5 separate regions of the Homo sapiens genome follow, and regions 2, 3, 4 and 5 are each linked to region 1. Evidence: promoter capture Hi-C in 16 types of primary human blood cells and fetal thymus (Javierre and others, 2016). All regions are on one chromosome and are shown on one strand. Each heading gives the region's core, a stretch centred on a gene start or on the middle of the fragment in contact. The rest is flanking DNA. Distances are from core to core; before and after follow the strand shown. Region 1 holds the start of KIAA0825. Region 2 overlaps RGMB (repulsive guidance molecule BMP co-receptor b). Region 3 has its middle 4.8 kb from the start of LYSMD3. Region 4 overlaps ARRDC3 (arrestin domain containing 3). Region 5 overlaps ARRDC3-AS1 (ARRDC3 antisense RNA 1).

The links. The method cuts DNA at HindIII sites, captures the fragments that hold promoters and counts their contacts. A CHiCAGO score of 5 or more calls a contact.
Region 2: a fragment that was not itself captured here is called in contact with the fragment with the promoter of KIAA0825 in region 1 in 1 of 17 cell types (total B cells); the score reaches 5.1 in total B cells.
Region 3: a contact is called between a fragment that was not itself captured here and the fragment with the promoter of KIAA0825 in region 1, in 1 of 17 cell types (non-activated CD4 T cells). The highest score is 6.6, in non-activated CD4 T cells.
Region 4: a fragment that was not itself captured here is called in contact with the fragment with the promoter of KIAA0825 in region 1 in 1 of 17 cell types (non-activated CD4 T cells); the score reaches 5.8 in non-activated CD4 T cells.
Region 5: a fragment that was not itself captured here is called in contact with the fragment with the promoter of KIAA0825 in region 1 in 1 of 17 cell types (total CD8 T cells); the score reaches 5.0 in total CD8 T cells.

The regions. Positions count from the first base shown.
Region 1 is chr5:94,616,030-94,620,942 of GRCh38, forward strand. It overlaps KIAA0825, which reads right to left and starts at 2,575. Exons shown (of 21, transcript NM_001145678.3): 1 at 2,471-2,575. SLF1 (SMC5/6 complex localization factor 1) reads left to right here and starts at 2,640. Exons shown (of 21, transcript NM_032290.4): 1 at 2,640-2,736. RefSeq lists enhancers at 1,589-2,453, 2,192-2,371, 2,682-2,861, 3,252-3,361. The HindIII fragment of the contact is 3,766 bases long and covers 1,912-4,913 here.
Region 2 is chr5:98,779,898-98,784,810 of GRCh38, forward strand. RGMB (repulsive guidance molecule BMP co-receptor b) reads left to right here. Exons shown (of 3, transcript NM_001366508.1): 2 at 1-191. Among named protein-coding and RNA genes, the nearest start is that of RGMB, 8.7 kb to the left of the region's middle. RefSeq lists an enhancer at 1-416. The HindIII fragment of the contact is 187 bases long and covers 1,272-1,458 here.
Region 3 is chr5:90,531,964-90,536,876 of GRCh38, forward strand. No RefSeq gene overlaps it. Among named protein-coding and RNA genes, the nearest start is that of LYSMD3, 4.8 kb to the left of the region's middle. The HindIII fragment of the contact is 7,271 bases long and covers 1-4,913 here.
Region 4 is chr5:91,367,766-91,372,678 of GRCh38, forward strand. It overlaps ARRDC3 (arrestin domain containing 3), which reads right to left. Exons shown (of 8, transcript NM_020801.4): 8 at 866-3,691. The coding sequence ends at 3,635. Among named protein-coding and RNA genes, the nearest start is that of ARRDC3-AS1, 10 kb to the right of the region's middle. The HindIII fragment of the contact is 850 bases long and covers 2,323-3,172 here.
Region 5 is chr5:91,394,528-91,399,440 of GRCh38, forward strand. The region is part of intron 1 of ARRDC3-AS1 (ARRDC3 antisense RNA 1); the gene reads left to right. Among named protein-coding and RNA genes, the nearest start is that of ARRDC3, 14 kb to the left of the region's middle. The HindIII fragment of the contact is 3,910 bases long and covers 992-4,901 here.

The DNA of each region.
Region 1 (4,913 bases), core at 1,325-3,824:
TGACTTATTTATTGAGCTTCTATTACACGCCAGGCACAGTGCTAGATGCTGGGTTTGAGATGACGAACAAAACAGACATAATCCCAAACTTCATAAGCACTGAAATTTGATAGCAAAATATCCCTGAGATCTGCCTACGGGATCTGCCTACAAGTCAATGCAATGTAATCAAATACACATTAGTATTTCAGGCTAGCTATACCTATACAGTTGTAAAACAGGATATTCTTTAGAATTAACTTCTATGTCATTTCTAGTATTGGTCATTTCAACTAAATTTTTGTAAATTCTCTGAAAATTAGGCTATTTCTGTTTCTCTATATAGAATTGGGTATTGGGATGGGCAGGTTTAATAAAGCATATTCCTGAAACTATGTGATAATCCCCATCTGTTTGAGGGTTACGTGAGTGGAACAGCACAGTTTTGCTAATAATTCCTTATAAATCATTACAAAGTTGAATTTTATGAATTTGTGCTCATTTACTCATTCTTTCTCCCTACACACACACACACACATGCACACACAAATATACATGTATACAAATGTGTGTGTGAAAAGCTGTCTAAAGAGATAGTTAGCTGATACTCTGGACTCAGTCACCAATATGCTTGCTGATGGTCTCCAGATCTTCTGCATTTGCCCCAAGTGTTATGCTAATGTACAGTATAGGCATTTGTTTGAATTAGGATAATAAAACTGGCCAAGGATAAAGGCACTAAAGAAACTGCATTATTTAGATGTCAAAATTACCTTATGGTGATGAACACATCCCTTAAGTCCCTTTTATCCTCAAGTTTTGCTATCCACTTGATTTCTAAATGTGACATACTATCTATCCATTTTTACCTGGAGTGAAAATAATGATACTGTTATGTTTACTTATAAAGGTATAGAGCACAGTAAAAAGAGCCAAAATTTAGAGTCAGGTAGACTGGATTCAAATTTTAATTGTGCCATTTAATTGTATAATTTATGGAAAATCACAACCTCTTTGGGTCTCAGTATAAAATGTTTTGCAAAATAGAAATAATACAATTTTTGTGATTTTCTTTTTTTATTAAACATTAAATAAAATAATAAATGTAAAGTGCCTGGCAGACAGTATCTACTTGGGGTAAGTATTAATGATTGGCTACATTCAAGAGCAATTCAAAGAGAGAAATCACTGCCTCTAAAAACTAGTTGCTGTACAGATATAATACATAATATCCCTGAAGTAATTTATAATACTTTCAACTGGAGAAATAAAGAAAAAATACAAGATTCAACAAAATGTCAAGATTGGGATTAATGGGGCGATTATAAGTTTGTTGAATTATTAACCAACAAGGCCAGAAAATCAATGTGCTGTCCTAAATATGGTTTGTTGCATTACTCTCAAAAGGTTAAGAAGACACTGGCCTGGTGTTAACAGGGGCCTTGAATTGAACATATTGCATTTTTCTTTATCGGTATGCTCCGATAAAGAAAATGTTTTTATGGGTATGAGGAGCATACCCATAAAAAAAATGCAATAGTACCTACAACTCTTTCGGGAACTGACTGTTTTGAAAAAATAACAGTCAGCTGCCTTTTACGGGGGTTGGTGGGGAGGTAATTATCTAAATATAAGGTGGCAAGTGAAAACTAGTTACCTAAGAAATTGCATTACTTAAGAGAAGTCGCCAAGGTTCACTACATCACATCTTTCAAATCTTAAATGAGCACCTTTCCTCACATTATCCCTTTGTCGGAAGCAATTTCTCTTTACAACTATTCTGGCTACCTCAGACCTCCATCCAAAATTCTCCTGAATCCTTCATTATCGACAAAGCCTGGAGCAGAACGCAAGCATTCCTTTCTGAAAGCACACATACTTACTGATCACTGCTTTCCAAAAATGCATCTAATGCCCAAGCATGAAATTACAAGCTTGTTCTCTTATGTCTCAGCCATGAAAACAAAGACCGTTCTTCTCATCCAATTCAAATGGCGGGAGGAACCTTCAATTAATTCTAAATCAGGAAGGAACCTCCCCATCTCACTTCCTAAATGTTTGTAAAAGATGTCTTCTTCAGCCAACCTCCTGCCTTCCAGGCACGGCACCCCAGAACTACGGAAACAGTACTCAGGAATCAAGAGTGGCCAAACGCTGCCAATGGGAGATAGGAAACTCGTTGATCATTGGTAGAGAAACTCGGCACAACGCCGAGTCACGGTACACGGTGTCTTCGGCCTCGCCCAGGGACACTTGGTGACCCGAGGTCGAGTTCCAAGTCGGAGACAGATTTTGCGAGTGGATAAGACGGTAAGCCGGGATCCCAGGGCCTTCTCCAGCTGCACTGGGTGTCAAGCGCCACGGGGTTTGATGGGGACTCCTTCTGGTTCCACCCTCGCCCACTCACTTCTCGGGCTGGCCATAATGCTGCACAGAGCCCCGGCCAGCCATTAATATCAGGCGCAGGAGAAAACCCAGTAAAATCACTTACCAGTCTTCCACCTCCGGTGCTGATCTAGCAAGAGCCTGACCCGCTGGCCAGACTCAAGCTCTGCACCAGGTATTACCACCCTGGCGACGGCTCCGGAGCGTCACTGACAACCACCCGGAAATGGTACTATCGCTTCCGGGGCTGCCTAGCGCGCGGCGGGAAATTGTTTCCCAGAGCCCGGATTCGTGAAGCAGTTGAGTGCTGCAGCGGCAGTCGTCGCCCCTGCCGCCGCTGCCACCGAAGGAAGCATCCCAGACACCGGGAAGGTAAAGGGGCTCAGCTAGGAAGACACAGTGTATTCTGTCTCTGTGGGGATGTTTCTTCGCCGGGCGGTACCTCCGAAGTTTCTGCCTCCCGGCTGTGAGGCTAGGAAGGAAGCGGCTGGGGTGAGCGGCAGCGGTGTCTGGCTCTCGCGCTTTCTCCAGCTGCAGTTCGTTCCAGCTCTCCCGACTTCGCGCTCGGCGCCGGAGTTGGTGGGCTGCAGCTGCAGACCCCGCGACGCTTCGCCCGTGCCGCTGCGGGGACTGCCACCGAGCGCCCCTCTGCAGTACTGGGCTGAGCCACTTCCCCCGCTTCTGCTTGCGCAGCTCTGCCGCTCGGCCCGCCGCCTGGAAGGCGCTAGGCCCCCCGCGTCTCTCGTTTCCATAGAACCCATGGGGACGCCTCATCCTGATACCAGAATTTTGGCTGCTTTCCATAACTTAGCGTCTGCGAAGGTGGCTGGGATACCCCAGGCCCACTTTCCTGTGACGAAGAAAATTGTGTCATTCTTTCCTCTCTAGTAGAATTTTTTTTTTTTAAACTGCTAAAACGGCAGTGATCCTATCTCTGACTGCTATAGGCCTTTAAACACAAACATACACACATACACTTTTCGCTGAAGGGAGGGTCTGTGTTCCTGGGGTTTATATTTCAGCTGCCTGAAGGCTGGAAACAAGACTGAGTGGCTATTTTAAGATTTCTTCCACTTCCAAAGCCTCAGATTAAATATTGACAAAAAAAAAATTGGTCCGTCTCGGGTACTTCATATCATTATTTGACTCAGGAGTTAGATGGAGCTTGATTTTGGAGGCGCCAGCCTCTTTTTTGACGAATGACTTTATTAAAAAATTTTGTTGTTGTTGTTGAAATATTGGGAATGAACATTTGAACTGAATTTACAATGTATGTGTGACAGACAATGCACCTTGTGGACTTTTTGGTTTATGTTATTCCGTTGTGCCTCAATTCTTGGAAATACCTGTGGATGTGCAAGATGTTCTCATTATTGGAAAGTTTGATTACGTATATTGCAGGTGTTCAATACCTAAGTTGCTAGTATGAGGTGAATTTATATTAAAGAGTATATTTCTTTATTTTCTTTTCTTACCTTTCCTTCCTTCCTTTGCTTTCTTTCTTTCTTTGACAGAGCCTTGCTCTGTTGCCCAGGCTGGAGTGCAGTGCCTATCGGCTCACTGCAACCTCCGGCTCCCAGGTTCAAGCAATTCTCCTATCTCAGCCTCCCGAGTAGCTGGGATTACAGGTGCGCGACACCACGCCCGACTAATGTTTTGTATTTTTAATAGAGACAGGGTTTCACCATGCTGTCCAGGCTGGTCTCGAACTCCTGATCTCAAGTGTTCCGCTCGCCTCGGCCTCCCAAAGTGCTGGGATTACAGGCGTGAGCCACCGGGTAACTCTTGAGTATTCTTAATTTAAAGGAACTAGGATGTTCAAATACTTGAATGTTTAAGTCAATTTTATTGTAAAGACAGCGAACCTTCAGTACTGCAAATAAACCCCTATTCTGTTTTCTAAATCCAGATTTTATTATGCGTTATTAAGTAAAATTGAATTATATAACCTAACATTTTCTTGCTTCCCTAAAGCATAAAGCGTGGATCACGTGAAAGTCATTGAAAAGATGATCAAATGTGGTTACTTTTCATAATCAAAATTCAGAACTGAAGATTTCGTAATAAGCATCCACATTTTCCACTGATGTTCAAAAACATTGCGTTTTGGGAAACCAATAGTATAGCTTTTATTTATTAGTACTTTCCTTATTATATGTATCTTGATTATATTACCCTAAAGTAGGGTTTTCACCATTTAAATAAAACTTTTTTAGAAAGTAAAATAAAAAATTCTGTGTTGGCTTTGAATAATAAACCCTAAACAAAACGAATTCTCTCAAGAATGTAACTAAAATGAGACATCATCTGTTACTCTTGTAGTTGACTCTTTGAATATACTAATAGAAAATATATCTGTATAATGTACTATGTACTGTTTTTCACCTTATAAGGGCATGTTACTGCTTAAAAGTAAAATAACCCTGGAACTTTTAAGTTCACTTAATTCATACTTTCTATCAAAATTACTTTGAAATTTAAAATACACTGTCTGGTTATTTTTGAGGAGGAAGAAAGACTTTCTCATATGAATCACTCTAATGATTGAT
Region 2 (4,913 bases), core at 115-2,614, 4.2 Mb after region 1:
GAGGGGACCAGAACCCTCCCAGTTACCTTTTTTGTGGCTTGTTTGGAGATCCTCACCTCAGAACTTTCAAGGATAACTTCCAAACATGCAAAGTAGAAGGGGCCTGGCCACTCATAGATAATAATTATCTTTCAGTTCAAGTGACAAACGTACCTGTGGTCCCTGGATCCAGTGCTACTGCTACAAATAAGGCAAGTATACCTTCTTTTTTCCCTCTCCCTACTCAACTTTCAAAAGATGTTTGATTCTTCAGATAACTTTTGAAATGTGCTATAAAGGGCCTAGTTTAAAAGGAACTTCTTTTGAAAAGCAATTAACAGTTGATAAAGGGTTAAATAAAAATTATCTAGTAAGGAATTTCTTATTGGAATGTAAACGTGGTTCTAATTTTAAATAGACAGTGATATAAAGAATAAAAAGTAAACAGTGAAATTGAGTTCTCCAGGGAAAAGGCAGACCTGTTTAGTAAAAAAAGGATGCTTTTTTCAGTGATGTCTTTTTTTGAGTGCATATGTGTGTGACTCTTGAAGAAATCCATGTTCAGATTTATCAGATGATTGAAGTGGGTGTTCTGAATAAAGAAAGCTGTGAGGCCTGAGGCAGTGACGTATCAGGAAACATATTTTATTGGAGATTTGGAAGCTATAGTAAAACATAATGGCAATAAGCCAACTTCCCAGTGGTAAACCCACAGTGGTGGTTTAGTTACTAACCTCTTGATGACCGAGGAGGTTAATAATTGGATATTGCAGAGCAGCAATATGTAACCTGTGTGTAATCTCAGGGCCTCAGGTTAACAGTTTCAGTCAGAAGCTAAGAGAAACACTGACAAAATTTAGCTTACCATGACTAGCTGCCAGTTTATGTGGTCTGTGTTCGTTTGTTTTAAAGAAACTAATACTGTACAGAGATCTTTGACACCAACTTCAAGGCACCAGTGTTTAGTGCAAGCAGGTAGAGAGGACCTATGAACTAGGTTTCTAATTGGCAGTCAGTGCTAATTCAGCCATTAGTAAGTAAAGTCACTTTTCCACTAAAATAGTGTCCCGACTAACCACCTCCTTCCGTGTCTTTTCCAACCACAAAACCACACACATAGACCATCTCATCTTACTTTATTTCTTGCATTTATTGTATCCAAAAAAATTGGTTTAGTTTTTTAATGTAATTGACAAGACTCAAGCTTTTGAAATACTTACGACTGTTCTCTTGATTCCAGGACACCCTCCCCTGTGTCTAAACATGTGTGGTATACTTTTTAAATAAATTAAAGCTTATTTTACTTGGCATTTTGTGGAGGGAATTTTACAACACCTCGGGAGATATCTGCAGACACCCTGGGGTGTCACAAATTTAAGACTAGAAGTCATTGCCCTAATCAAAGACGACTGTTACACTGGTCTAGACATCTTAGGGGAACTCCAAAATGTTTATACTTCAACTCTCAGTAAAAGCTCAAGCTTGTCTTTTGCCTTACCAAATTCCATATCTCAAAATAAACTTTTCTCCCTCTGGTTTTTGTATGTACTCAAATCATTTTTTTATAAATATCTCAGAATATGTATTTGCTATAAATTATATATAAAGTTATAGAATTATGAAGTTATAAGAGAAACGATGGCCCCAAATCCATCATTACTGCAGAGTCATATGGCACATGAAAGCTGGGAATAGTCTTTGGGTAACTGAAAGAAGGCAGTCCATTGAGAATGGAAAAAGTCATCAATTGTGCAAATAATTGAGGACTTGGCAGAGTGACCTTCGAACAAAACTATAGAGATTAATCAGAGCTTGTAAATGGGGAAATACTCATTCTCTTCACAAGAAGCAGTATTCAAATTTTATTCTTCATGCCTTCCATCCGGTCATGTCACTTCTGTTATTCAGTCTTTCAGAATTCTATTGTTACTGATTATGGTGAAAATATGTGGGGGATAACCTTATGAATATTGCTATATATATGGAACAGTTTACACTGAAGTATTTAAGATCATTTTATTTCAGTTGAATTCTGTTGTAATTTTTAGCAAATAAATAAAAAGGACAATCTTGTTTTCTCCCTCAGTTTGGAATAAGGATCAAAGGTTTTACCCATTCAAAAAAAGTTGGAGAAAGTGGTCCTCTGACATAAATTCAAGTAGATGATGAGAATGCTTGGTCTTTAATTGCACTATTGGAAGGTATTTTCCCACATCTGGTGACCATGCTGTTCAGCAGCAAACTATTCTGTAGCCTCACTTCACAACCTCTAGGAGTTGTTGGGTTTGGTTCCCCATCCCCCTTCTCTTTGTAACTCTCTCCAAAGCCCCATAAGCATCTGGAAGGTTGCTCTTGAAGACCTGTCTCAATACTAGTATGACGTGTGCTGGTGAAACCAAAGAAAGGCCTAAATCTTACAATACGTTCCTTTTACCCAGCCAGGACCAAAATAAAACCTTTAAAAACCTTCAGCACAAAAAAGTGGTGGTGATAAAAATAAAAACAATAAGAGGCATAAAAGTGCTTATAAAATAAGTTCTAAACAAGATCTGAAATTTTCCCTTAATGTCTACCACCATACTTTCTTTAAAAAATCTTTTGAAAAATTTTTTCATGGAAATCCCAGCTTTACTGAGAATTTAAGCAAGTGCATAGACCAGTTGTTGGGTAACCTAGTACTGTGCCTTGTAGATACCAGATCATCCTTGTGTGGTCAAGTGTTTTTAATAACCCACGTGCTCAGTGCCACTAGATTGAAAGACTGATGTCATTGGCTAGCTGGCCAGCTGTGATACTGAAATTTTCGGAAACATCCATTCATTTCGCTCCCTTTAACACTGCACTGAAGCACTAGACCCCAGGGTATTTTGCTCAATGAGGCTACTAAGACAGCTTCTCAGTCCTGGGAACCTGGCCTCTTGAGCAAGCCGTCTTCAAGCCCAACTTTGTGAGCTCTGCCTGTTCCTAGGTACCCCCCTTTTCCTTATCACAAAAAGACAAAGTGGGGGAAAAATCTAAACACCATAGAATGAAATGAAGTCACCCGGGGCCATATATTAGCTAAGCCTTTTCTTTTTCTCTACATGGCAAGCAGTGAGTTCAAGGCAGACATGCCTGCGGTGCTTAATGATGTTGCCTCATCTCCCCTGGTCTACTGTTTTCTTCCCCACCATGGCCCTCTCCTCCCCTTCCTTGGGAAAGGTAGGGTTTGTTTTCCTGTTGGTCATGGTGTGCACAGGTATGCTTTCTCAAGGCCTCTGTGTTTTTAGTTTTGCCCTGTGCCTGCCTCCCTCTCTTTGGAGGAACCTGTGCCAGTTGGCTACCTTGCCAGGTAGATGTGTTTCTGAAGGGGAAGCCAGGGCTGGTTTTTCATCTCTCCACCCCGGGGGCTGCAGGGGTGTCTGGCACACACACATACCTCGGCTGACATCCACATCAGCTCTGGGCCATCTTCCCCACCTTTGGCTGTGAGAGGCGGCTACAGGCATGTAGGCACTCAGAATGAGATGAGAGGGACAGGCTCTGAACTGGCAGAGTTAGCTACACTGAGAAGAAAGGCAGGTTTTGTTTTGCAGGAGGAAGTAGCCCACCCTTCACAGGCTCCAGAGAGGGCACATGTCAGTAGTTGTCCTGTGCCTCACACACTCAAGATAAACCAGATGATCTGTTTTGAGGATGCTTGACTTCTTCCATGTTATTTTTGCCAACCTCTCAGTCTCAACTCTTGTTCATTCATTCTGTGGATCTTTATATCTCTGTTTAAGTGGGTTCAATAAGAATCTGTATATGCCATGATCACAGAAGGTGATTGGGGAATAAATTTTTTTATGAAAGATTCTGCACTTTGCAAATGTATTCCCAATAGCATATATTAAAATTGCCAGTCTCCAGGGAATTCAAAAGTATTCCTTTTTCAAAAACAATTCTGAAATTCATTTATTATTAAGTTGCATACCTAAACAAACAATGGAAATGTTTTTAGTAATTATTTTTGTACAAGTAGTTTGAATGCCTTCATTTTATTTTTCCTTTTGTTTTAATGTGGTTGTATCCTTTTTCACCACTCTTGCTTTCTTATTCTATCCTTCCACCTCAGTAACACAAAATAAAAAGTAGGAGTGGAGACTGGGGATGACAACAGGTCCTACTGCAGATCTTCTGCTACACATTTTACTGTGCCTCACCCTTGAGTGAGAGAAGGTAGTTTACCTTAAGGCGTTTGAATTTGGGAAAGGGCTGTGCTCATCGTACTTGACCAAGCAAGATGACTGTTAGGCAGATGGACAGATGCTCTGAGGTGCCTATCTTGTACGTTTTTGGTGCTGCCAACGGCCACCAGCTCCTGGCAATCCTATGGGCAGCACTCATCGCCTGTCCAAAGCATAGTAGCATACCCATCATGCATTATGGATAGTCTAAATTCCATACTTACCCCTGAATTTCAAATTCTGTAGCTACTTTCTTGGGAATTCTTGAAAATTTCCGCTGGTTGAAGATACTAGAGATGTAGAAAGACTTAGTTTGGTTTGCTTTTGGTTAATGTCTTCTTCAAACTCTGTAACCTACAGTTTTCCATTGTAAGAAACACCATTACCTTGTAGGCTCCTAGAGCATGAGGTAGGTCTGCTTTCTGGTGCCCCTTAGCAGGGAGTTATTGTTCTACAACAGCATGTGGGCATGTAAACCAGTGTTCTGGGTCATTCTTTGTTGGTTACAAAATCAGAACCAGACATGCCTGCATTGCAACAGCTTTCAGTTGTCATTTTAAGTATATCTCTGCATAAGGTTTGGAAATCTGTTCTCTGTTGACCCCAGACCTAGTACATTTATTGTAGCTAAGTTTTTGCAACCCATTATGTTTTTAGCATCTTTATGGAAACCATGTGAGCTACATAGTGTTTATCATTATTTTTCTGGACTAAGGGATATGGTTC
Region 3 (4,913 bases), core at 1,104-3,603, 4.1 Mb before region 1:
TTTCAAATAAGCATCCCTCATCCTACCCCCCGTACCCCACCGACACACATATACACATACACATTCACACACACATATATGCAGAGAGATGCACTTAATTTTTCTATCTGGAAAGTCACTCAAGGAATTTTAACAGTGGCTGAAAAGGACTAGACATGGCAGGGGAGTAGGCAGGAAATTTTGCCTTTTCCTCTTAGAACTTTCTATATAGACTGAATTTTTATTACTACATGCTTTTATTATATTAAGAATTAACACATTTTATTTCTAAGTAACTGGACTTGTTTATTCTGGAGCTAACCTATAGTTAACCATCCATCTCTTAGTCATTCCTGAGTCTGTTTGTACTTTGTATTCAGGCGGCAAATGTCTGGAGAAAAGAACCAGATCAATTCTCTTATAAATCAAAAAATGAAAGGGTAACAAAACATTGAATTCTTTTTACACGTCTTCTTGATTTTCCTCTTTCTGATTTCTTTCAACCCTGCTCTTTTACTCTCTCCTCCTTCCTATTATTCCTATTTCTATCCTTATAGCAGCCTTTTCTATCCAGCTTCTACTTTTCAGAAGCAGAACTAGAAAGAACTGTTGGACAATAAGGAAATACTTTAAGTAATCTCAGATGAAGTTAAAATTGGATTATGGAGTGAAACTTAAAAAAAAAAAAAACTCCCACATCTCTGATCTTCAAATAACCTATGTAGAGAGAAAATTATTGTGTCTCTTCTCTCGAAGTGTTGGAAAAAAACAGACTGGATGATTTGGATATGTTCTGCTAGCAGGTGTACCACATGACCTCTCTAGCTGCCTTTAATCCTGTGATTTTTAAACATAATGATTATTGTAATCATGGCTTTGCCATAATGTGGACAAAAGAAGAGTCAGATATACTTCAGGAATCCAAAGCTGTTTATAAATGCTAGTAATTAATTCATGGATCTTAAACATGACTTGAAAACAACCATCTTCAAGTCTTCATCCATGCAGACACGATGAAAACTAGCCTCACAAATACTATCCTTATACTCTTTAGCTAGGTGGTTGGTACATGTAGAAAGGAACAGTTACATCTTTATATTTAAGTAGACTATAATTTGAAATGCTTTGTTTCCCATGTCTCTTATAATCACTACTGTCACATAGGCAAATCAGTGCAGGTGAATTCCCCCAGAACCTGCATCCTGCTTGTTTTCGTGCCTACTTCTCCAGAGATTTAAGATGATAAGACAGTATGTAATTAAGTTCACTAAACCAAAGGAAAACCTGAGGCATGACCCAGTCTATGGAATTGGGTGATGATAGATAGTGATCACCCAGAAGTGGAGAGCAAGTCAAAATGGAGTACAGAGAGTGGACGTCCAGTTTGATTTCTTAGGTCTTCAGCAGTGCATTCACAGAGACAGGAAAGATAGGGAGTGGGGAAGAATAAAAGGATAATGGGAGAGGCAACAGCATCTTCTCTTTCTAGTCTAGGTCTTTCCAGATAGAGACCACTTCTGTGACAATCCTCAGCTTAGTCAACACTATCTGACAAAACCAAGCAAGAATTTCAAAAGCAAAACTTCCGTGCTCATTTAAAGAATAATAGTGAGGTGTACATGCATACCTAAAATGAAGGTAGTTGCTTATCTGACAAAATATAGACAGAAATTACATCTGTTCATTCAACAAATGTTAATTAAGCAGCAACTGTGTTTCAAATCCTGCTTTAATAAAGCATCAGGGACATGCAATGAACAAACAAACCCAAATCTTTGCCCTCTTGGAGCTTATGTTCTTGTGATGAAAGATAAAAACAAAATAAATAAATGAAATTGTGTTAGATGGTGATAAGTGAATGGAGGAACACTGAATAGGGTAGGAGCTGCAGTGTTTTGGGTTGGGGGAGAGTCTCCACCCTATGAAAATTCTCTATCCCTGAGAGAGGAACTGTGCCTAGAGTATTGGAGGAACAACAAAGATACCAGCATGGCTGGAGCAGATTGCCGAAGCAGCGAGCAGTAGGAGAAGAGGTCAGATAGAGCCAAATGGGAAAGGACTCTGTCAGCCACTGCAAGGACTTGGGCTTTCACCCTGAGCAAGATGGGAAACGATTGGAGGGTTCTGAGCAGAGGAGGTCATCATCTACCCTTTAAAAGGATCCCATAGGAAAGTGGAGGCAGCAGCAAGGAGATCAGTTAAGAGGAAATTGTAGTAATTCAGGCAAGAGGGAAGATGTCTCAAATTAGGGAAAAACATCAAGTATCACATTGATGTGGGTTAAAAATACTTGATTTAAGAATTTTTTCAAAGCCCCCGACTCTATGAGGATGCTCAATTTTAGTTTTAAAGATATTTTTCACTAGTTCCTTCTTGCATACTTTGATTAGTGACTCTGTACTAGGGCCTGTTTTCCACATTAATTCTAAATAAGCCAGATTTACCACTGTAGCAATTGTTGGATCTAAGTAAAGTTTCCATTCTGCCCTCTCACCATGTTTTCTTTTATTTACAGTTAAGATTGAGCTGAATTTTTTCCCCTTATTCCAAGCCTTAATCCTATCTGGCTTCTAAATCCCTTCAGAATTATTTGAAGCAAAGAATGCCTGCTGATTTCAAAAAACATTTTACACTTGGACTTACTTGATGGGGTATATAGCAAGGGTCGTGGAGGCTTCCTTCCTTTCCATGCAGAAAAATGTGTTTGGAAATGTATATACTAATCAATGAGCAATCTGTTAGTAAGAAACATACAGAAGCTCATTTCTTTGATTTGTTGTTTTGAAAAGTACTTATTTTTCTTTGGAGTATTTTTCAGTTTAAAATCTAATCTGTTATTTTGTAGAATAATCAATTTATATTAGTTGAAACTTGATTAACTTTCCTTTTATTACCCTGTCCTTAAGATCATACTACAGATTTGGTTATATATCACATAACAATATAAATGAACACTTGTTTTATAAAGATTTCTAATTCTATTGTTTCAGTCATTTCATTGAAAGATAAATATTACTACACCAATCTTCTAAGGAAAATTTCTTGTGTGTTATTCCTGGCTTTGTATAAGATAATGTTTATAGGCATTGTATGTAATGCTGATGCAATAGAAGGCATTATATTTAAAAAGAATGGCTTTACTGTATACAAATATTAGGATTGCTTGTAAGGCAAAGCCATAAAAGCATTGCGTAATCTATTCTAATAAAATAGATACGCTAGCCCTTTGACTTTATTTGGTTTTAGCAACTGAACAGGATAGAGTTTCGAAATGAATATGGTGAAAATAGACAAAAGGATTTATAGTAAATTTTTTCCTCCTGCTCTGTGTTACCTCCCATGAGCCTTGTTCACCTTTTTCTCAATATCTGCCATTACTCATTAAAATTCTGGTTTCATAAAAACTACAAGTAGAGACTGCTGTTGCTTGTTGTATGTGTGTAATGACAGCACTCAAATGCATTGCTAAAGGACTGGAAAACACAAGCAAGGATTATGATAAGAATGGTAACAACAACCACTTTCAACATGTATAAAGTTAAGGCAGTCTGCGCAAAACTGACATTTTGATAACTATACAAGGTGTTGTCAAAGTATGATCTCAGAACCCCTGCCAATCCCCAAGACTCCTTAGTAGGGTCCTCAAGTACTTTCACAATAATTCTAAGAAGTTATTTGCCTTGTTCACTGGGTTATCACTTGCACTCAGGTTACTCTTGTACAGCCATGGGAGATGAGCCCACAGAGAGCCAAATGGGATAGGACTTTGTTAGCCACTGCAGGGACTTGGGCTTTCACTCTGAGCAAGACGGCAAACAACTGGAGGGTTCTGAGCAGAGGAGGTCATCATTTACCTTTTAAAAGAATTTAATAGGAAGGTTAGGGCAGCAGCAGAGAGATCAGTTAAGAGGCAATTGCAGGCAGATGCGGTGGCTCATGCCTGTAATCCCAGCACTTTGGGAGGCCGAGGCGGGCGGATCATGAGGTCAGGAGATCTAGACCATCCTGGCTAACACGGTGAAACCCCGTCTCTACTGAAACAAAAGCAGAAAAAAAAAAATTAGCCAGGCATGGTGGCAGGCACCTGTAGTCCCAGCTACTCGGGAGGCTGAGGCAGGAGAATGCCATGAACCCGAGAGGCCGAGCTTGCAGTGAGCCAAGATCGTGCTACTGCACTCCAGCCTGGGTGACAGAGCAAGACTCTGTCTCAAAAAAAAAAAAAAAAAAAAAAAGGCAATTGCAGTAACTCAGGCAAAAGGGAGGTTGACTCAAATTGGAGAGGAACACCACATACCACTTTAAAAGTGTTCCTTGATTAAGCAGTAAATATATATTTATTGTATTAAATCTCAGTCCTGGAGGCAGGATGCAGTGGCTCACACCTGTAATCTCAGCACTTTGGGAGGCTGAGGTGGGTGGATCACCTGAGGTCAAGAGTTCGAGACCAGCCTAGCTAACCTGGCAAAACCCCGTCTTTTCTAAAAATACAAAAATTAGCTGGGCGTGGTGACATATGCCTGTAGTCCCAGCTACTTGGGTGGCTGAGGCAGAAGAATCGCTTGAACCCCGGAGGCGGAATTTGCAGTGAGCCGAGATCGTGTCACTCCACTTCAGCCTGGGCGACAGAGTGAGAGTCTGTCTCAAAATAAATAAATAAATCAATCTCAGTCCTTGAATATATGGCTTTTATTATTCTTTCTGATGAAACGGGAAATGCACATGAAGTTCTTCTGCTGCATGTCAAAGTAATATGGTTGTCTAAGAAAAAAAATCTGGTGGCCTTGTTTGAGTTGGGAACTGAGCAAACCGTTTTTATCAAAGGACACTATTTTTAATAGAAAGAATGACTGACAGAAAAACTATGGTTGGCTGGGCACAGTGGCTCATGCCTGTAATTTCAGCACTTTAGGAGGCTGAGGTGAGAGGATCAATTG
Region 4 (4,913 bases), core at 1,498-3,997, 3.2 Mb before region 1:
TAACTCATGCATTAATGTATAAACACTGAAGAAAAATTCTAAATGTGATTCCAAAAGTACTTCTAAGGTTATCAGACACTATAAAATTAAGATTCTTTTAAGACAAAGAATATTCACTGTTTTTAAAATTTAAAGAAATTTAGAAATATTCTTCAAAAATTAGAAATTAATGTAACTTTTAGGCCGGGCGTGGTGGTTTGTGCCTGTAATCCTAGCACTTTGGAGGCCAAGTAGGGTGGATCACTTGAGTCCAGGAGTTTGAGACCAGCCTGGGCAACATGGCAAAATCTCATCTCCACAAAAAACACAAAAATAAGCTGGGCATGGTGGGGCATGCCTGTAGTCTCAGCTACTTGGGGGTCTGAGGCAGGAGGATTGCTTGAACCTGGGAAGTCAAGGCTGAAGTGGGCCGAGATCCTGCCACTACACTGCAGCCTGGGTGACAAAGTGAGACACTCTCTTAAAAAAAAAAAAAACTATGTTATGTTTATGTACTCTTGAAATACTGGTAATTTGAACACAACACAGTGAGAAGGAATTGGTGCCTGAAAGTGAATTATTTTACCTGGTTAAGTTTGCTTCATATTTAAGATTGAAATTTAGAGTCTGGACATGGTGTCTCACGCCTGTAATCCCAGTGCTTTGTGAAGCCAAGTTGGGAGGATCGCTTGAGGCCCGAGTTTGAGATCAGCTTGGGTAACATAGTGAGACCACGACTACAAAAAAATTAGAAAATTAGGTGGGTGTGGTGGTGTGCACCTGTAGTCCTAGCTACTTCGGAGGTTGAGACAGGAGGACTACTTTAGCCTAGGAGTTGGTCAGTAATTTTCTTTAGTACAGACCTAGATACAATTCTTACCCAGAATGGCTTAAAATAGAGTTTAATAGTTTAATTTAATGTGTTTGCATGTATGGTGAGTTACTAATATGATCAAGATTCAAATAAATCTCCAAACAATTATACAAAACAGAAAAAAACAAAACACTTTATTTTCCACAAGGAAGAGCAATAGGAAAAATTAAATCATTTCCCACATATTGTTTTCTTAAAACAGAGCCTACAAGGACATATTCAGCACCAAATAAAAAAGGAAAAAAAGAGAAATTACAAACAGCCATAGAATATAATCTATAAAGCAAACATTTAATATTGCACTTTGTTTTGCTAACATTTTGGATTTTACTTTTCCTAATTGAAAAATCAGGAATCTATCTTGAATACTGGAATACAACTGTGAACCTCACATCTTATGTCAGGAATTGACCAATATTTTTAAAAAAGTAATGCCTCTAAAGAAATACATTTTAAAGGGGAAAATAAAACTTTATTTGATAAAGTTTTATACATTTAAAGTTTTATCACATTTTGTGATCCAGTGCCAATTATCAGAATATTGGTCATTCTTGCTTCATGTGTTATTTGTAAGAGTATATAATGACAAGTATTCCAATGCTATGCATATCAACAATTGTTCCCTAGTCAGTTAGACGTAAGAGAGAAAAGGGATTTTCTGACAATCCCCCTCAAACAAAAATAAAACCACCAAATGCCCTTTATGCCAAATATTCCATTAGCTTTTTTTGAGGGGGACATTCACAAAATGATTCAACAATAAAAAAATATTTCACCCCCATTTCCTTATTATCTAGTATTAGTTTGCTACGGGAGCCCAAACTCTTTAACCGAATCACTTAAAACGCGATTCATTTTTACACTGGGCTTTCTTCACCCTGTCAGCATTTGTCAAACATGAATTGTCTTCCATGTTTTCTTAAAGGCCACTTATGGAAAAGCCTATTTGTTTTGTATGAGCTTTAAGACAGTATTTAACCAGGTCAAGCACCAAGCCAGAGCTACTATTATTTTCAGCCACTTTATTAACTGTGGGGTTAAATGGCAGGATAGATGTAACACCCATTTTACACGTATGTTGCAACATCAGAGATGCTGGTTTTCTTTAAAAACATCAGAGCTGAATTCCTTCTAAAATACAACAACAACAACAACAACAAAATAAGTACACTTGGTACCTTGGAAAATGCTGAAATGCTATCATGAATGCTGGTATATTTGTTATGAGCCAACAGAAAATTACCTTTAATATAAACTATAACTTACTGATGTGATTGTTCTTCCTATGTAATCTATACATAATCAAAGTGAGTGATTTCTCATGTTTAGCAAATTGTTCTTTAGGTAATGAAAAACAGTATTCTCATTAGAAAAACACAAAAATCCAAAAGATTTATCGCAGCAAACGTTCTAGTATTTTAAATTTTGAAGTTACTTTTGGAATAAAGTCGAGTTTTCATGCCATACCAAGCTTGAGCAAGACAGCAAAGGTACAAATTGAGCTCTCTATTCATAACCTCAATGTATGTATTCCTGCTCATTAATATACTTTGCACCAGCAAAAGCGATTTCCAACATATGTGTTTTGGAGGTAATTAAGTAACTCTGTATAAAAATAAATGCACTTTTCCCTCCTTTCCCCAGTGAATGGAAAACTTCCATACTTTCAAAATAATAATAAAAAAAATAATTTTTAAGAGCAACAGCCCTCAACTCTTTGCTGGTGCCTGCCATACTGCCTTTCTTCACTCCATTCTTAGCTCTGCTAGTTTCTTCTTGTATGTCATGATAAAAAGGGAATGTGGGTGTGTAACTTTTGTGTATGTCCCGTTTCCAAATTTCCCTCTCCAAAAAGCCAACCAAATAAACAAACAAACAAACGAAAAAAACAGTGCAACAAAACACAAATAGCATTCCAACAGTTTGGCAAGTGATGCGTTCACCTGAGATTAAGTGATTTTAGGCAGTCAGTAACAAAATGCTGCTTTGCTGTAATAGTAGAAAGGCAACAAATTCTTAAAAGAAACCAAGAAGGTATACAATCTTGACAGTCTCTTATTAGCTTCCTCCTCTTATCTCTTTTTTTCCCACATTATCTGTTGCGTATCTACTACAGTAGGCTGCAAAACATACAGCAAAAAGGATTGGCTTGAAGGCATTTGATGTTTGTAAATAAATCCACAATTGGATCCAAGCTGAAGAGGTGATACATAGTCAGCCTAGTAGACAATTCTGAGCATGTGCATACGCAGGTAAAGTCCAGGCTATATTAAATAAAAAAAAATGTCAGTGCGTTTTTTCATGTTAAAGTTTTTTCAAAGCTTTGTTTTGTTCCTTGTTGTGCTGACCACAAACAAGTTTTAAGAGTATCAAGAGTCTGGCAAAAATAGAAAAAAAAAAAAAAAAAAAAAGAAGCTGTAGTGACGTCGAACCGCACAATGTAAGCATTGAGCATGTGCAAATTTTCAAATCAAAAGAAGGAAATCATCCCTCTTTACAACGTGATGTCTTGACACGTACGACCATAGGCTAAGAAGACTGCTCTGAGTATGTGCCAGTTTTAAAAGAGAAAAGCTTAGATCTTCAAGCATGTTGGAGCAGTCTCAGAATGTTGCTGTAGGCTTCTAAAGCATGATCACTGGTTGTTTCATGTATTCGCCATTTTTCTGGGCAAAAGTAATTCCACTTCCTCTGAAACGTGTCTCCAAGATACTTCTCTGTCCTCAGCCGGAAGAGATACAGTTCGGAACCCACATCAACTTGATTCAACCAAGTGTTCCTTCAACGAGAGGGGCAGGATGGTCTATCATCTGCTGACTGATCAGGATTTGGATCAATCTAGAAAGAAATGAGAAAAAAAGTTTACAGAGTTATTTCATGAGGTCTAGGAAGAATGTAGCAAATGACTACAATTCTGAATACTAGTCAAGAAATGTAATCAGAGAGCAAACACAGCTTGTTAGCATATTATATCCAATTATTCTCTTTTCATACGTGAAATGCTATGTGGGGAGGAAAGGGTGTTGGTACCTACAGTACCTGATATTTAATTACTAGATTAACAAGCTTTATAAAGGCATGTCTGAATAGTCCCCTATTTCACAAAAATTAACAGTAAAATTTTATCAGTGAATGAAGACTTTTACTCAGTACTTTAGTAGTACTTAATTAAGACCTAAATACACAACGTAGAATATCTTCATAGCAATCATCTTCTTTTGTAAAGCACCCCTTTCATCCTTCTACAAAAAAGTTAACTCATCGCTTCCTCTGACTTTGGAAAAATGAAATCGTATAAACAATGCTCTTTGTTTATACAATGTGCAAACAATTTGTTTACTCACATGAACAATGTGCTTATGTGAGGTAATAACTCATGGGTGTAAAATCCCACAGAGGGCCAAAAACGCAGTGTATCAGGAAATAAAACTGCTGAACCCAAAACACTCAAGAGGTTTCCTCCCACCTTCTTTATCTTCAGAGTGACTTTTATATGCACATATTTTTAATGAAAAGTTGCTTCTCAAGTACAAAGAGAATGGTCATAGAAAAGCAAATTGTTGGGTTTAATATATTTTTTACTGAAAGAGCTTTTGGACGAGACCCCATCCACTTGCATCTAAATGTGGAACAACCCAAATTGCCTCAGAAGCTTTAGGTAAAACACATTTTTGAAGGAAAAAAGCCAAATAACTTTTAGTTAAATCACACCCTGAACATATTTTAGGGTTTTAAAAGTTGTAAATTATCTTTAGTGCTTTTTAAAAGGAGGCAGAATTTTCCCACAAATTGCTTAAAAGTGAACTATACTTAGATTGTCATTCTTTTTAAAATGCCTCCTTGGACAGCCAGGAAGCCTCAAATCAAGCCAGAAATGACTGACTTAATAAGCAAGACAGAAATGTCCAAGTAAAAATGTAATGACAAAATCTGTAACAAGTGGCAGAACACTTTTAGCATCTAATAGAAATTGTATGTATTAGAAAATAAATAGAAAAAATTATGTCTCATCAATAATTCTGAATATTCTATAATCAATGAATGAAGAAGATCTCATATC
Region 5 (4,913 bases), core at 1,697-4,196, 3.2 Mb before region 1:
ATTATAGGTGTGCACCACTGCGCCCAGCTAATTTTGTATTTTTAGCAGAGACAGGGTTTCGCTATGTTGGACAGGCTGATCTCGAACTCCTGACCTCGTCATCTGTCCTCCTTGGCCTCCCAAAGTGCTGGGATTACAGGCGTGAGCCACCACGCCTGGCCTAAAATTATTTATTAAAATAATGAAATAATTAGGTAAAATCATCATATCTTGGTGTGTAATTGAATATGGGTATAGAGGAAGGGTGTTAATTGAATGTTAGAGGGAAGAGTAATCAAGGATGACACTGGATTTCTGGCCTAGGCAACTTGCTAAATGGTGGAGTTCCTCGCTGAGATGTGGAACATGGGGAAGGAGGAGGAGGATGAATTTCAGTTTTATATTTGTTCATTTTTTATTTTTTAAATTTTGAAACAATACAAAATATACAGAAAATTTGCAGGTACAGTACAGAAGACTTTTTTTCCTGGACCATTTGAAAGTAAGTTGCCAGTATGATGCCTCACTGCCAGTAAAGACTATGCCTTCATAGCCATAGTGCAACCATGGAAATCAAGTCATTAACATTAGACATTACTACCATCTAATACTGAAGTCCCAATCAAGTTTTGTTGGTTGTCTCAATACTCTCCTTTAGGGCAAAAGGATCCAGTTTAGAATCACCTGTTACATATAGTTTTCAGGCCTTTTTAGTCTCCTTCTGTTGGGAGCAGCAATGTAACTTTTCCTGGTCTTTAATGATCTTGACCCTTTTGAAGACCAGATATTTTATAGATTGTACCTCTGTGTACAGTTCAACCTGTTTTTTTTTTCAACCATGGTTCTGGGTGAGAATTAAGGCTTAACACCCTAAGAAATCTGTATTAGTGAGTTCTCCAGAAAAAACGGAATTAATTAATTTATTTGTTAAAAAATAACAAATAAATGGCTCATGACGTTATGGAGGCTGAGAAGTCCCATGATCTGCTGTCTGCAAGCTGGAAATCCAGGAAGCTTGTGGTGTAATTTAGTATTAGGTTGGTGCAAAACTAATTAGTAAAACTAATTTACTTTTAATTAAAAGTAATAGCAAAAATCGCAATTAGTTTTGCACCAACCTAATACAAGTCTGAATTCAGAATAAGTCTTAAGACTTAGGAGTGGTGAGGGGAGGAATAGATCCACATACCAGCGCAAACAATCAGAAAGCAGATTGAAACATCCTCCATCTTTTTGTTCTCTTCAGGCCCTCAGGGGATTACATAATGCCCACCTACACTGGGGAGGCCCATCTGCTTTACTCAGTCCACCAATCCAAATGCTAATCTCTTCCAGAAACACCCTCACAGACACAACCAGATAACCTTTAGCTAGATATCTGGGCATCCTGGGGCCCAGTCAAGTTGACAGATACAATTAACTACCACAGCATGTATTGGATGAAATAATTAAGTTTTAAAAACACATTTAGAATGGCATTAATTATGTACCATTCTTGAGAGAGTTGAGCAAATAGTCACTATGTGTTAGGGTTCAGCTGAAAAAGGCTGAATGATTCGATTTTGATAGGAACACTTCAGAAGTGATGCTGTTTTCTCCTCATTGATTCCTGTCAGATAATGTACAATTTTGGTTTGTCCCATTACTAATGATCATTTGAATAAAGATGTGTCTGTCTGAATTCTCAACTACTTGGTTCCCCACCCTGACCCTAGGGAATTTGTAAGTATTTTGTATGGAAGTTTTTTGAAACTTTGCAAGTATCCTATTTCTTATCAAACTTTCTATTTGTTTGTTTATTTATATGACCATTGATTCATATGAGCCTTAATTTATTGTTATTTATCTTGATCTTCAAATTGTGCCCAATTTAGCTAGTAGAAATCCCTTCAAAGTGGCTTATGACATGTCTCCATCATATTTCGACTACCTTCTTTTTTTCTGGCATATGAAACAAGCTCATCTTGTACTTCTCCTGTACTTCTTGTACTTAACAAGCTCATCTTGCAATTCCGCTGCCTAGCCCTGGAATCAGCCATTTCTCCAAGTTAGCCCTGAGTCTTTGAAGGAGCACTAGGTATACACCTTGCTTTTAGAGTGTGGTGTACTTTGAGGTTGTCCCCAGTGGAGAGAGCTATCATATATATAGATGTACATATGAATGTATAGACACACAGTTGCAAATTGCATCTATATTTCTGTCTGTCTGTCTCTATCTGTAAAACCATGAGTGTACATTGATACCATAAATTCTAATCAAACACCTCAGGGTTTGTTCTAATTTTCTCCCTTTCCATATAGGTAACCTTCTTTTTGACACTGAGAAACCAGGCTCCCATTGGACTTGTCATATTGACTTATTTGATCAATCCCCCCTGCATGTGATCAATCTCCTGTTTCCACTGTCATCCTCCCTTGAATGTGGATGCCCTCTTTCCCTACCTAGGCTCTGCCACCCTGTTTCAGACTGCCCCTCTAGTGGATGTATCCTCACCCTAACCAGGCTGGACCTCTCCATGCTGGACTGGCCTTTGTGTGGTGCCTTCTGAACCCTGTATCAGGTGGGCTTTGCTTACACACTGCTCCCACTCCCCCTTTTCCTGTGCCCCACTGTTGTAGGAAAAATATTGGTTCTTGTCACATGACCAGGAAAGATTAGGCTCACAGATACACAGAAGGGTGAGGAATGGAATTCGTTGGGTTCTGCCAACAGGCTCTCCACCTCACTGATTGAATCCCAGGTTACCACCCAGGAACAGCAGAGGCCAGACTCCTTGTCCTAAGGCTCCACTCCATCCTCCCAATGCACAGGCCAGTCAGAGAGTCTCTGGGACCGGCAGTCCAGTTTTTCAGCCTCAGGCTGTTTTAGGCTTGAAAGTGGGGTTTTGCCGGGGGACCCTTGGCTGGCTCCTTGTCTCTATCACCATCCTTTACATGCTGGGCAGATACTACTTTAATTTAGTAGAGAATGAGAAAAGAATAATAAAGCAGTAGCTAAAAGGAGACTCCTTCAGGAGTTTTTGATGAAAAAGTATGGCATTCATCATATTTACCTGTAATCGCCTTGGAGCCAATCTAGAGAGTGAGGTTAAAGATACAGAAGAGACAGAAGTAATCGATAAAGCCACTTCTCTCAGAAGGAAGAAAGGGATAGGGTCTGGTGCACAATTCTGAGGATTAGTCTTAAGTGCAAGAGAAGACTGCATTCCCACTTAAATTCAGAGTGGGAGAGAAGAATGGCTTGAATACAACTTGGTTTGAGAGTCTTCTGGCCGGAAGAAGAGTGAATTTCCATCCCATGGCTTTTACTTTATTTGTGCAGACATTGCTGAAAAGGAGTGATCTAGTTGGAGATTAAGGAGATTGAAGAGAATTCTGAAAATCCTGTGGAGAATGAGAAGTGAAATGAGCAGGAAACCAGAAAGGCTTCTGATCACTATGGAAAACCTAACTGAGAATAGAAACTGAAAATGAATTCAGACACCAACCCTAATGACTGTCAGGTTTTCTCCAGCAGCCCCCAGGGCTGGTAGTGGAAAAGGCAGTTTTTTATTAGGCAAACAGTTAAGTAGAAATACCTAGGACAAGTAAGTTGAGGATATTGACTAGGGAGAGCTTGAATTGAAGGAAATGGATGTTGAAATATTGAAGAGTTCTGTAAAGTATTAGGAAAGTAAAGAGAGATGGAATCTGGAAGAAGGACAGTAGATGGGTCATGTCCTATCCCAAAGGTTTTTGTGTGGTTTAGTCTTAAACAATCAGAAACCAACTCTAACTTAAGGGTGAAGTGGAGGTTGGGAAGTGGAGTTTGTTATAAATATATCAGGTAGCTCACAGATTTAAAACTCAGTCTGAAGAAAAAATCATGCTTCAGCGATATAGAAACTATTGCAGCTTTGGTGTCCAGGGTTTTAGAAAGTAATGGACACCTTCAGTATCACTACTGGGAAAAATTAGTTCTACTATTTGTTCATTCTTGTTACTGCTTAGGGTTCAAATACTGAGAAGAAAGGTTAAGATTTAAATGATCTTGCTTAGATTTTGTGCCCACCCCCTTGGGCAGGAGATTGACTATTCTATCAAGACTATATGAAATTGGCTGGGTGCGGTGGCTCACGCCTGTAATCTCAGCACTTTGGGAGGCTAAGGCAGGTGGATCACTTGGGGTCAGGAGTTCGAGACCAGCCTGGCCAACATGGTGAAACCCGGTCTCTACTAAAAAAATACAAAAATTAGCTGGTCATAGTGGTGCACACCTGTAATCCCAGCCATTCAGAGGCTGAGGCATGAGAATCACTTGAACCTGGGAGGTGGAGGTTGCAGTGAGCTGAGCTCATGCCACTGCATTGCAGTCTGGGTGACAGGGTGAGACTCCATCTCAAAAAACAAAAACAAAAACAAACACAAACAAAAAACCCCAAAAAAGACTATATGAAATGGAGTTTGGGAAGTTCCTCAAAGGAAAACAGAGATGCCGTTTACAGAAGAAGGAGAATGGAAGCAACACTGGCAAAACCAACAGATGCTCAGCATTTGTAGATTTTGTGTGTGGGTACTGAGCTTATGCAAATAAAGCATGAGTTGGTATGAAGAGGGAGACATTGAATAAAATACTAATTCTTTTTAAAGTTTAATTTTTCTGAATTACAAAATAATACATGTACATTGTAAAAATAATTAAAACTATCCACCTTCTCTGATCTTTAATTAATATGGATTAATGACCAAAATATTGCTATATATGATAGCAAAGGGCAGAAGCAGGTAGGAAGTGATAGATTAATTTGAAATCACTGTCTGAACATTTTCTATGGTCTAGATTCCGTCGCGTACACGGTGGATATGAAATGAGAGTTTGTTCTCTTGCTCATAAGTACAAGTATGAAATGGTGCTTTGAAAACTAAGATCATATACACAGCCAAGCTTTATAGTA